Linked DNA regions of Homo sapiens: region 1 is linked to region 2. The links are contacts of gene promoters, found by promoter capture Hi-C in blood cells and fetal thymus (Javierre and others, 2016). All regions are on one chromosome and are shown on one strand. Each heading gives the region's core, a stretch centred on a gene start or on the middle of the fragment in contact. The rest is flanking DNA. Distances are from core to core; before and after follow the strand shown.

Region 1 (6,804 bases), core at 3,048-5,547, 330 kb before region 2:
AAGGGCCAGGGCGAGTACTCGGGCTCCTGGTCGCACGGCTTCGAGGTGGTCGGAGGCTACACCTGGCCCAGCGGCAACACCTACCAGGGCTACTGGGCGCAGGGCAAGCGGCACGGGCTGGGGGTGGAGACGAAGGGCAAGTGGATGTACCGGGGGGAGTGGTCACATGGTTTCAAGGGGCGCTACGGGGTCCGGCAGAGCCTGTGCACCCCCGCTCGCTACGAGGGTACCTGGAGTAACGGGCTGCAAGACGGGTACGGCGTGGAGACCTACGGGGACGGAGGTGAGCGGCGTAACGGGCGGCTCGGCTGCTCCGCGAGCTGGTGCGGTGGGCTCTGCCCCGGCTGCGGGGAAGCGGGGAGGACGCCGGGCGCACGTGTCCGGAAACCCGCCAAAACACCTGGGGGCGCCTCCCACCCCCGCGCCCGCGCCCGCCTTTCCCAGAGAGGGCGCTGGGACCGGACTGGGGCGCGAGGGCTGGATCTGACCCCGTTCTTGGAGCGGGCCGTGTATCCACACTCAGGGGAGCTAGGCGTGAATGTACCTGGCCGGCGCCAGCGCTGCGCTGCCACCGGGAGGGAGCGCCGCCCGGGAGGGTTGGGCTGGAGAGAGGACGCTGTCACTTGAGCCCGTCACATTACGTTCCTGATCCCTCCCTCTCCCGGCCGGGTTTGAAATCGCCACTCCCGTGGAGTTAGAGCGAACACCCTGAGCGGGTGAGGTTGGCGGTCCGTGCTGACCGCTCCCGGGATTGGTTTCACGTGGAGTCGTATTTCGCTTCTGGTCCTCCAGTAGCCTAAAGATAGAAGCCAGAACCCCGTAACTAGGATGTTGGGGAATTGTACCTTATTTGGGGGTGCATTTGGAAACGTCCTAGTTATGGGAGCAGAAAGGCCACCTGATGCAGGTGGAGTTCAGAGTGTGTGAGTTCCTAGTTTTCATTCCGTTTCTTAAAGTATTGGTCTTAAAAGAGTAGCAGTCTTTGCTGACCTGGAGATCTTGGACAAATTACTAGGAAGATATTTTAGAAATGGGTAATGAAGTCTACATTTTAAAGAATACAATTAGCAGGTGTGTTCCTATAGCTGCTAAGTTAGCAGCTACTACTCCTGAGAATGGCAATACTGAAACAATAATTTGCATTATGTGTGACCTAAGCCAGTATTCCTGGCTGTGAACAAAGATCACCTTATTTTAATATTTAACAATATTTGCCAAAGAGATTGTGTATATACCAGGACAGAAGTTCCTCTTTTATTAGGAAAAGTATACATTATTGAAACAGGTGTCAAAACCTGATGAATTTCCTTGTGTAATACGCTGAGAAAGATATTCATGAATAGCTTATGCTTTAGCAAAGTGCATTTCCTGATAAACATAATCATATTTAGTTGAAAAGGGTTGTAGGAGGCGACATCACTTTTTGGAATTAAGCAGCTCAGAGTTGGAGGATATTAAAGGGATGCAATTAAAAGTTTCTCCAGCCCACTGCAACCCCATTTATACCATTGCTTATATAAAAGCTTACACAATTTGTACACTTCACTTAGTCAGAACACTTGGGCCGTGTTTCAAATGCAAAATGGCAGAATGGTAGAACTTGCTAAAAAGGACATCTTTTCATCCTACAGTATAAATTAAGCATATGGTTCTCATGGATTAAAAGAAAAAAACGTTCTCTAATAGTTTTATGTGGGGCTGAGTCCCGAGTTTCACAGTAGTTAATTGGGACCCTTAAATGTTCTGAATGGGCATAAAGTACCTGGTTGACAGCGCTGTAAATATGTCAGTTTGTGACTGGATTTTGTTGGAGGCCCCAGCTCTACTATATAACTAAATTCCATGCTCAAAAGTAGAAGGCAAAATTTATTGTTTTAAATGTGTGCATTATTTTATAATCTTTTAAGAAGGCCAGGGATGGTTCTCTTCAGTTTTGGAAGGTTAAAAATCGTCTCCTTTTAAAGATACTATTCATTAAACACACTCTCTTGGTTTAGAGTATTCATTATACCTAGTAATCAAAATATATATAGCACAGTAGAGGCTGTCTGTGTACATGTCGTAGAAACCCAAATAAGTCTCCAGAATGATTTTATGAATAATCTGCCTTCAGTTTTAAAATAAACTTAAAAAAAAACTTAAAACTTGGCATCATCCTGGGTGGTACTGTGGTTTTCTTCTTCTACCAAAAAAAAAAATCTAATATGCTACAGTTAGGAAGAAAAACCTTAAAAATCACTACTGAATGTCTACTCTATGCTAATAGATTTTCTACTGTCTCATATGTAACTATTTCATTAGAAAGTTCTCAATCATAAAAAGGGAGTCTAAAGCAAGTTTATTGCTGTAACTTATTTCATACAAAGGTTTTGGCCAAAATAGGAATATCACTAAAAAATTAGCTTGTTTTCTGCTGTTCTCACTAAGGAGTTAGCTTGTTTTTGTTTGCACTCTCCCCATCGCCACATGTCCATCCCTGTACACCCTGTATCAGATTCAGGGAAAATCTGATTCCGAGTTTTTTTGTGGTGACATTAAACTGGAGGAGGAAGGAAGCAGTAATTCCATGTGAGACGTATCACTTATTTTATTAGTGATTTGTGTATTACATGTTGCTGAAATAGAAACCCCCTGAATATTAACAATAAGTTAGTATCATACTCATGAAATCCAAGTCTAGGTGCCCAGAATTTTTTGTGCTAATTCTGATCTGTACTTTGTTTTTTCACTTGTCATAAAACTATTGAAAATATCTGGGAAAACACAACGTTTTGTTAACTAGATGCATACTTGCACATACCCATTCGGAGCATATAAACTGAAGTTTGGCATAGTGCAGTGCAAATTTGACTGAAACTCCTAAACTGGATGCCTTCCACTACAAGATTGTGTAGTTAAAATGACTAAATCTAAAAAATTAGCTCCCAAATGAACACAGTTTAAAACTGGTAAAAGTAATTTTTATACTTGTGAAATATGCATCTACATTTTAGGAATCAAGAGGAACTAATTAGAACTTTATTTGAGCAGCAGGGAGAAGTTGGAACCCACCTGCTTCATAAAGAAATAGGCCCTTTCTTATTCTAGGTTCATTGACTAAACTAAACCTATTTTAAATTTCAGATGAACTGCTAACAGTTTGACTGCAAATTGGTTTCTAGCAATTCTGTGGAGGAATTCTTTCATATACTGTGATTTAACAAAATAGGAGAGGAATGTGGCCAATGCTCTTGTCCCCCCCTTCCCTATTTGACAGTTAAGCAGAGACTTAAACTTTCTAATTATTGCTGTTGCCTTAAACAGCTTGGATTTTCAAGCCATACTTTTTTGGAAATTCTAAATACTGTACTAGTCTTATTTTTGGAGATAACAGTTTAAAGAAACTAGCTGTTAATTTTCCATCAGTGTTAAACATTTACCAAGATGGTATGGCTGTGTTTTAAAAGTGCAGATACTTATTGATATCAAACAGCATCTCTGCAAATTGTTCTAGCAAAATTAACTTGTCACTATAGACAAAAGTTAGGAGGATGTGATTATAGCATTCTTTTAACCAACAAAATATTAAAAATAAGGTGGTTTATTTTAGTATCTTCAAGCCAGATTGTGAAACTTTCATCCTAGAATTTAAATTTTACCTGTATAGGCAAAGGAAAAGTCAAAGTCAAAATTTCCTAATAATTCCATTCCCATTCCTGTTAAGATGGCGGTATTTGGAGATGGCCAGTATTCAATAGGAAGCTTCTTAGCCTGAAATGTTTTACATGACTATCTTATCCTCTTGAGTTAATCTTTCAGAGAAAACTGTGGGCCACCCACCTCCTCAGAAGTTCATAGATGTCAAGTTAAGACTTCACATCTACCCAGAATATGACATTTACAGTACCAGACCCACTTAGTATTTCATTGTATATCTACTATTGCCTGTGTCACATATGCCAGAATGAACAAAAAGAGAAGGTAGTCTTGAAATTGGTCAAAACCGTTGACTTGGGAGTCATTATGGTTTTAACTTTTAAGTGCAATGAAATAACCAGCCATTGTTAACACAGTTATATAAAACCACTAGCATTTTTGCCCGGTGTTTTGAAAATGAATATGTGCCATGCAATGGAAATCTGTGCATGGAAATATAAAATGCAAAGTGACTGCAGGGTAGATCTATATAATCAGAAATGGAAAGAGGTCAAGACAGACTAATCATTATTTGTTTTCTATGACATTGTGAATTGTTATGAATAACACAGAAGTAATTACATTTTAAATTTTCCAGATAGCTTCTTTTGAGGGATACTGTAAATTAAAATTTACCCTTAATTAAAGGAAATTGATTTTGAAAAGAAACTTCTAAATTCCCTAATTTAACATTCATTTCCTCCTAAGATTATTTTAAAACCTGTACCAGGTTATTTTTTAATGTCTTTGCTTATTTATTTAGTAGCAAAAAATTCACTACAAATGCTCTAGATGACAGACTATCATGAAAAAGCATAATATTTGTTGACAGAGTCATCTGGTATCAACATTTTAATAGATAGTGTCAAATATACCTTTCCTCTGAGATGAAGTCCAAAATGGTAACAGTAGAAGATTTCATCTGGCCTTACATCAGTTTCTCCAAGAGTAAAGGGTATACTTTTTAGCCACCATAGCTTTTTACCGTCAACATAGTCATCAAACACCCTCCATCCACAAACACAGACCAGAGGACACATGAGAATTTTGTGTTCTCATACGAAGTAATTCCTGCCCTCAGGGTGCTTCTAGTCTGTGGTGTGATTCACAATGCAGTGGCAGCTAGGGAAATCCATAGAGGATGCAGAGATTTGGCAAATGATACGGCACAAAGCTTTGGCCTTTTCACTTAGAAGCACAAAAATGTTAAATTACTCATTTTTTTCATAATTCACTGTATTCATAATATATATTGTGGTTGTCGATTCTCTCTTAGCTCAAAAAGGTTCACCCAAATTCAAATGATAATCCTGAATATTCAACAGTTTTGTCTACACTAAAAAAAGAGATGCTGAATGTAGCAGAAAATTTAAGACGTTCATTTGATGACTGTGTCCCAAGTATTCCGATTTAAGCCTGTATACTTCTTGGAATGTTATACTGACATAGACCTAAAAGTCATTTTTTACAGTTTTCCAGCTAAATTAGTAATATTAGAATAAAATTTACACATAGAATTCATTTCATCTTCTACTGTTTCCTTGTCTTCTTCCCAAGAGGAATTTTTGATGCATTAATTTCAGAGGAGAATGTTGTTTCCCAGTGTTCACTTTTTGTATTAGAAAGTAGTGGTTTTCCTCTGAAATACTTGCATAAAATTTTAATGAAAAGCAAAAATTATCTGACTACTAGAAAATTCTGTGCAATGACATTAAAGCCTTACACCCAAAATTACAGGGCGGGGATTCACAAGTGGATGCAAAGTATCCCCCAGGGTTGACTTGGAAATGGGTCAGATTTGACCTTGGGCAGGCCTGCGCCAGTGTGCGCTGGATGGTGCAGGTGACGGTGCAGCTCTGCCCCCGACTCACGGTGCTTTCTTGCGGTCTCTCCAAGGTACCTACCAGGGCCAGTGGGCCGGAGGCATGCGGCATGGCTACGGCGTGCGCCAGAGCGTGCCCTACGGCATGGCCACGGTGATCCGCTCACCGCTGCGTACCTCGCTGGCCTCGCTGCGCAGCGAGCAGAGCAATGGCAGCGTGCTCCACGACGCCGCAGCCGCCGCCGACAGCCCGGCCGGCACCCGCGGCGGTTTCGTGCTCAACTTCCACGCAGACGCTGAGCTAGCGGGCAAGAAGAAGGGCGGCCTCTTCCGGAGGGGCTCCCTTCTTGGAAGCATGAAACTTCGCAAGTCCGAATCCAAGTCTTCCATCTCGAGCAAGCGCAGCTCTGTCCGCAGCGACGCGGCCATGAGCAGAATTAGTTCCAGCGATGCCAACTCCACGATCAGCTTTGGCGATGTAGATTGTGATTTTTGCCCGGTGGAAGACCACGTGGACGCCACCACCACGGAAACCTACATGGGCGAGTGGAAGAACGACAAGCGCAACGGCTTCGGCGTTAGCGAGCGCTCCAATGGCATGAAGTATGAAGGGGAGTGGGCAAATAACAAGAGGCATGGATATGGCTGTACCGTGTTTCCTGACGGCTCCAAAGAAGAGGGAAAATACAAAAATAATATTCTGGTCCGTGGGATAAGGAAGCAGCTTATACCAATAAGACATACAAAAACTAGGGAGAAGGTGGACAGAGCAATTGAAGGCGCCCAAAGGGCAGCTGCCATGGCCAGAACCAAAGTGGAAATAGCAAATTCAAGGTAAGTAAATGCAGGGTGGTTGGTTTTGCTGGGTTGGTCAGAACAATGGAGTATCAAATATTATGTTTGTCTATCTGCCAGTGACATCGCTAAATGCTTTCTACAACTACTAAAAAATCAAAGGTGAAAAATGATTACACTCAGTAGAATCAAAGTCAGAAATGTACCTGCACTGTTCTGAAACTTCCCATCATCAAAAAATGTCGAAGGCACTTTGAGCTCCCCTTCCTGTTCTAAATTACTTCCCTCATATTTAACAGCGTGAGGGAGTTCACTGAGACCCTGTGCTCATCTTCCTGAGCCCGGAAAGTTGCTGTTTTCTTTTCTTTTTTTTGTAAGAAGGACCTCTGAAATGCTGCCATAGCAAGCATTGTGTTTTGTGTACCAAAAGAAAATAGCAATCCACGTAGAAACATACTTAGTATAGATGTGTACCTTTATTCTGATATTTACATCGGAGGTATGTACACTTA
Region 2 (6,957 bases), core at 2,550-5,049:
CGTTCTTGCTGTCTCATCCCATGGTGGAAGAGCAGAAGGGCAAGAGGGGGCAAAAGCAGGAGACATAAGGGGGCTAAACTTGTCTTTTTATGAGAAACTCACTCCCTCAATAATGACATTAATTTATTCATGAGAGAAGAGCCTTCATGGCTTAATCACCTCTTAAAAGTCCCACCTCTTAATATCATCACAATGGCAATTAAATTTCAACATGAGTTTGCAAGGACACAAAATTCAAAACACAGCAGTAAGCCAAGGAGAGAGGCCTCAGGAGAACCCAATTATGCAGACACCTTGATCTTGGACTTCTAGCCTCCAGAACTGTGAAAAAATAGGTTTTTGTTGTTTGAGCCATCCAGTCTGTGGTATTTTGTTATGGCACCTGAACTAATTAAGACACTGTAGCCCGGAATCAGTGGCTCAGGCCTGTAATCCCAGCACTTTGGGAAGCTGAGGCAGGAAGATTGCTTGAGACCAGGAGTTCAAAACCAGCATGGACAACATGGCAAAACCCCATCACTACAAAAAACTTAAAAATTAGCCAGACATGGTGGTGCACGCCTGTAGTCCCAGCTACTTGGGAGGCTGAAGCGGGAAAATCACTTGAACCTCAGAGTTTGAGGCTGCAGTGAGCCATGATTCCACCGTTGCACTCCAGCCTGGCTGACAGAGCAAGACTCTGTGTTTAAAAAAACATACACTTAGATGCCCAGCAGCTTGACCAAATGGAAATCTATCTCTTCTTTTTCATGGAAATCATCACAGTGAATCAGAGGTTGTTGTCACCAACACCCTCACAATGGTACCTAGAGGAATCAGTGCTTCCCACAGGTGATGCATTTTTGGCTGGGCAGGATGGATTCTCTCAGGCCGGGAAGGCAGTCATATGGCAGTGGGGATGGCAACAAGCAACATCTTGCTGTAGATGTGTATTCCAGTGGCTTGCCCACAGTCCCTTTGTCAGTGGGGCAGCAGGAAAGGACCACAGGGTTTCTCAGAGAGAAGGAAGGAAGATCCTCCTTCATAAAGTCAAATCAAATTAGCCAGGCATGGTGGTGCATATCTGTAATCTCAGCTATTTAGGAGGCTGAGGCAAAAGAATCGCTTGAACCCAGGAGGCAGAGGTTGCAGTGAGCTGAGATCGTACTACTGCACTCCAGCCTAGATGACAGAATGAGACTGTCTCAAAGTAAAAAAAAAAACTAGAAAGTCAAATCAAAAGATACACCAACGGTGATGGTTTCACAGCAATGTGCATATACTTAATACAATTGAGCTAAACACTCAAAAATGATTAAAATGTGAAATTTTAGGCCAGGTGCAGTGGCTCATATCTGTAATCCCAGCACTTTGGGAGGCCAAGGTGGGAGAATCACTTGAGCCCAGGAGTTCCAGACCAGCCTGGGCAATATAGCAAGACTCCATCTCTACAAAAAAATTAATAATTAGGCCAGCTGCGGTGGCTCACGCCTGTAATCCCAACACTTTGGGAGGCCAAGGTGGGCGGATCACCTGAGGTCAGGAGTTGGAGGCCAGCCTGGTCAACATGGCAAAACCCTGTCTCTACTAAAAATACAAAAATTAGCTGGGTGTGGTGGTGGGCACCTATAATCCCAGCTACTCGGGAGGCTGAGGCAGGAGAATCACTTGAACCCAGGAGGCGGTCGTTGCAGTGAGCCAAGATCATGCCATTGCACTCCAGCCTGGGCAACAAGAGTGAAACTCAAAAAAAATTATTTAATTAATAATTAGACAAGTGTGGTGGCATGTGCCTGTAGTCCCAGCTACTTGGAAGGCTGAGCTGGGAGGATGGCTTGAGCCAGGGAGGTGGAGGTTGCAGTGAGTGGAGATCATGCCACTCACTCCAGCCTGCACAACAGAGCAAAACCCTGTCTCAAAAATAAATGATAAAATAAGATAAAATGTGAAATGTTTTAAAAAGACAAATTGAGTTATTGTTAAGAAAAGATTGAAAGCTAAATAATAATACAAAATGTTACATCCATAAAAACCATATAAAGAGTGGCATAAACCGGGCAAGGTGGCACACGCCTGTAATCCCAGCACTTTGGGAGGCCGGGGTGGGCAGATCACAAGATCAGGACATTGAGACCATCCTGGTCAACATGATGAAACCCTGTCTCTACTAAAATACAAAAAAAAAAAAAATTAGCCGGGTGTGGTGGCGCACACCTGTAGTCCCAGCTACTCAGGAGGCTGAGGCATGGGAATCGTTTGAACTTGGGAGGCAGAGGTTGCAGTGAGCCGAAATCGCGCCACTGCACTCCAGCCTGGCAACAGAGCAAAACTCTGTCACACACACACACACACACACACACACACACACACACACAGTGGCATAATTAGCACATGGTACAAAAGAGCCAAAGGAGGAGAGGGAAGTGGGGGCCAAGTAGAGTAGGAGCCTTGCTGGAAGAGGGGAATGCAAAAGGATCTTGCAGCATGGAGAGATTTTAGACATACGTTTGGAGGGAATTCAGTGCAACCCACCAGGAGAAGGGCCATGGTGTGTGACTGGCCACACTCCTAAGTCTCCTCCTCACATGTGGCAATTATCCCAATTTCCCGAAAGTCACTTTATATTAGCATTTGGCAGAGCATGTTTCTCAAGAGAGTTAACATACACTCCAGACTAAAACACAAACAAACAAACAACAAATGAAATTGAAAATGTGGTTAAACAGGTGCCTTTATTGCAGAACTTCTCAGAACCCAAAGTACATCTGTAAATCTCTCCCAGATGATTAGGTCATAGATCCTATTTTCCCAAAAGAATCTCAAAGAACTGGTATTTTGGGAAGCACCACTTTAAACCTCCCAGCTATTGCTAGTGGGTGGAAAAGGGCAGCCAACCCATGGTAAGCAGCACGGTGGAAAGTACCGAACCAAAACAGCTGTCAGGCCTGACACTGTGCCTTCAGATCCCAGGACACTTGCTAATGAGCAGCTGGGGCAGGGGACAGTGACACAGCCAGTGAATAGTATTAGGGTATGGCTGACTCCAAAAAAAAATTAAGAGTATTATTGTCTCTATGTGACCCTATGCTAAAAAACTTCACCTCACAACACCCTTATCAAGTAGACTATAAAATCACTTTCACTTCAGTGCTAAAAAGGCTGGAGTACTTTGCTTAAGGTCACACAGCTAGTGACAGAACCAGGCTTTCATCCAGTGAGGGGGATGATTCCAAGAGCACTCAAGAGTCACAGCTTAGAGCAGAAATCAACTCCAGGAAGCAGCTGGGACTGCTCTACCATCTCAAGAAGAAGAACTAGTAAGTGTCAAGGCTGAGGTGAAAGCTCAGAAGCAGATGGTTTTATTAAAAATGGGCAGAACCAAAAACTGGGCTCAGGGTAGAGAAAGATGACGCAGGGAACAGAAGCACTTGGAGGTCAAGCACAACACAGTTTAGAGACTCACAAGCTCTGTGAGTGGTCGAGAACATTCTCATGGGGCAGCTGCCAGCTATTGCTTTTCCTGCTGGCAGCGTCCGCCACAGCAGCTGGAACACACTGATGTTTCGTGTGTTCCAGCCACAACAGTGTACGGTTCTCGTGAAAACTTACCCTCAAAATAGTTGATGCTACAATTATTTGTTTTGCGGTTTTACTTACCACAGTAGGTGTATGAAATACTTGCATCGGATGAGTTGCAGACCCAATACTGCTTCTGAGCTTCAGTAAATATGGAAGAAAACAGGGTGGAAAAAAACAGAAATGGTAACATGATTCAATATCTCCAAAGCTTTACAAATGCAAAGAGGATCAGTAACTAATCATCAGACTCTTCCTTTTCAGTAAGCAGAAAAGATTTAACTTAGTCATCAGTCACATGATTTCTGAGTTCCTATCCAACTGTTTCCTCTTTTTTTGTGTGTGTGTGCTCAACATTTGAGCACTTCCTGTAAAGGAAGAGAGAAAAATGATTTAGAATGTACTCTTCAAACACTTACTGTAAATGAGAGTGATCAAAGACTTAAAAATAAAACAAGACACTTTGGCCAGGCACGGTGGCTCATGCCTGTAATCTCAGTATTTTGGGAGGCTGAGGCAGGTGGATCACTTGAGGTCAGGAGTTCAAGACCAGCCTGGCTGACATGATGAAACACATCTCTACTAAAAATACAAAAATTAGCCAGGTGTGGTAGTGCATGCCTGTAATCCCAGCTATTCAGGAGGCTGAGGCAGGAGCTTCACTTTATCTGGGAGGCAGAGGTTGCAGTGAGCCAAGATGGCACCACTGCTCTCCAGCCTGGGCAACAGAGCAAGACTCCATTTCAAAAAAATTTTTTAAATGAAAAATAAAATAAAATAAACAAGACAATTCCCAGTCAACTGTAACAAAACCAGTCCCTAGGTCCCCCTGAAAGTCTCAACAGACAGGCACTCCTTTTCCCTCTGCATTATTCTTCTCTCCTACAGCTCTGTATAACAGCAGTCCCCAACATTTTTGGCCTCAGGGATCAGTTTCATGGAAGACAATTTTTCCACGGACTGAGGGGATGGGGAGGGATGGTTTCAGGGTGAAACTGTTCCACCTCAGAACATCAGGCATTAGATTCTTATAGGGAGCACGCAACCTAGATCCCTCGCTTGTATACTTCATAACAAGGTTCCTGCTCCCATGGGAATCTAATGCTGCTGCTGGTCTGACAGGAGCTGGAGCTCAGGTGGTAATGCTCGCTCACCTGCTGTTAACCTCCAGCTGTGCAGCCCACTTCCTAACAAGCCACAACCAGATTCCTAACAGGCCATGGACTGGTACTGGTCCACGGCCCCCAGAGGATGGGGCCTCCTGCTTTATAAAACAAATTCTCAGCTGGGCACGGTGGCTCATGCCTGTCATCCCAGCATTTTGGGATACCAAGGTGGGTGGATCACTTGAGGTCAGGAGTTCAAGACCAGCCTGGCCAACATGGTGAAATTCCGTCTCTACTAAAAATATAAAAATTAGCCAGGCATGGTGGCACACACCTGTAATCCCAGCTACTCGGGAGGCTGAGGCAGGAGAATCGCTTGAACCCAGGAGGCAGAGGTTGCAGTGAGCCAAGATTGGGCCACTACACTCCAGCCTGGGCAACAGAGTGAGACTCGGTCTCAAAAACAAACAAACAGGCCAGGCGCAGTGGCTCACCTCTGTAAATCCCAGCACTTTGGGAGGTCAAGGTGGGCGGATCACCTGAGGTCAGGAGTTTGAAACCAGCTTGACCGACATAGTGAAACCCTGTCTCTACTAAAAATACAAAAATTAGCTAGGCATGGTGGCAAGTGCCTGTAGTCCCAGCTACTCAGGAGGCTGAGGCAAGAGAATTGCTTGAACCGAGGAGGTGGAGTTTGCAGTGAGCCAAGATTATGTCACTGCACTCCAGCCTGGGAGACAGAGCGAGACTCCATCTCAAAAAACAACAATAACAACAACAAATCAAATTATCATGGCCCAGAGAGCTGCACCTATAGATCTGAAGTAAACAGTCTCATGGAAACTATTTCTTTTCAGCAGCAGGTTTAGTTACAGGACAGAACAGGGCCAGATAAGACCCCAAACAGGGGACACTAGCTGTAATTCTGTGCTGTGGGCAGGGACTCCACCAGTCTTAATAATGTATTCACCTACAACAAGCTAGAGCTCAAGAGAACATTTTGAGTCCTAATAATGAAATGTCATCCTTTTGTTATGACATGTATTTCATTTCAAAACTCTCACTCCATTTTAGAAAGACAGCTATTCCTTTAGATATCTTGCTACTTGAAATCCTTTACAGGATATAGCTTAGGGTTAGCAGCCAAAAATGGCATGGAGTTTTGGCCTAAAAATCTGCACACTTAAGAAGAAAATAATCATACGTTGGTAAAAATATTTTACAACAGAAGTGTGATTTTTTCCATTTTTTTAGAGATAAAGTCTCACTGTGTTGCCCATGCTGGGGTGCAATGGCTATTCTTAGGTGTGATTATAACACACTGCAGCCTCAAATTCCTGGGCTCAGCTGGGACCACAGGTTTGAGCCGTGGCTCTTGGCCCTGCCATTTTCAAAAAGGCAAAAGTCCAAGGGAGGAGGGGGAAATGGGGAGTTGTTCAATGGGCATAGAGTCTCAAGCTGACAAGATGAAAGAGTTCTAGAGATCTGTTGCACAACAAGGTGAATATAGTTAACACCACTGAACTCTATGCTTAAAACTGGGTAAGATGGTAAATTCTTTAAAAAACACAATTTTAAAATAAATTTAAAAGATGGAAAAAAAAAAGACAACCACCCATGAACACCCTTAGTGGTCTCAAAATACCATTTCCCACTATAAGCAACCAGGACTCCTTGGAGTCTGGGGTAGAAAATGTACAAAATGAGCCTAAAACACTTTGTTATATTAGATAACCAATTTGAAGACGGTTCCACTGAGCAAAGATAGGTGTTTCTAGTTTCCTATAATGGCTGTAACAAATTGCCAAAAGATTTTGTGGCTTAAAACAACATAGGCTGGGCACAGTGGCTCATGCCTGTAATCCCAGCACTTTGGGAGGCCAAAGCGGGCAGATCACCTGAGGTCAGGAGTTCAAGACCAACCTGGCCAACATGGTGAAACCCCATCTCTACTAAAAATACAAGAAATGAGCCAAGCATGGTGGTGGGCATCTATAATCCCAGCTACTCGGGAGGCTGACGCAGGAGAATTGCTTGAACCCAGGAGGCAGAGGTTGTAGTGAACCGAGAGATTGCACCACCACACTCCAGTCTGGAAGACACAGCAGGACTCCATCTCAAAAAACAAACAAAAAACTGTAAATATATTCTCTTACAGTTCTGGCGGTCTGAAGTCTGAAATCAGTTTCACTGTACTAAAGTCAAGGTGTCAACAGAGGTGGTTCCTTCTGGAGACTAAGGGGAAGAATCTGTCTCCCTGCTTTTTTCAGCTTTTAGAGCTACAATCCTTGTATTT

What was found. The method cuts DNA at HindIII sites, captures the fragments that hold promoters and counts their contacts. A CHiCAGO score of 5 or more calls a contact.
Region 1: a contact is called between a fragment that was not itself captured here and the fragment with the promoter of LY96 in region 2, in 1 of 17 cell types (fetal thymus). The highest score is 5.1, in fetal thymus.

Annotation. Positions count from the first base shown.
Region 1 is chr8:74,314,388-74,321,191 of GRCh38, reverse strand. It overlaps JPH1 (junctophilin 1), which reads left to right. Exons shown (of 6, transcript NM_020647.4): 1 at 1-283; 2 at 5,572-6,331. Among named protein-coding and RNA genes, the nearest start is that of JPH1, 3.8 kb to the left of the region's middle. RefSeq lists an enhancer at 1-585. The HindIII fragment of the contact is 1,108 bases long and covers 3,744-4,851 here.
Region 2 is chr8:73,988,234-73,995,190 of GRCh38, reverse strand. It overlaps LY96 (lymphocyte antigen 96), which reads right to left and starts at 3,799. Exons shown (of 5, transcript NM_015364.5): 1 at 3,637-3,799. The coding sequence starts at 3,748. RefSeq lists enhancers at 3,018-3,087, 3,458-3,557. The HindIII fragment of the contact is 3,298 bases long and covers 3,769-6,957 here.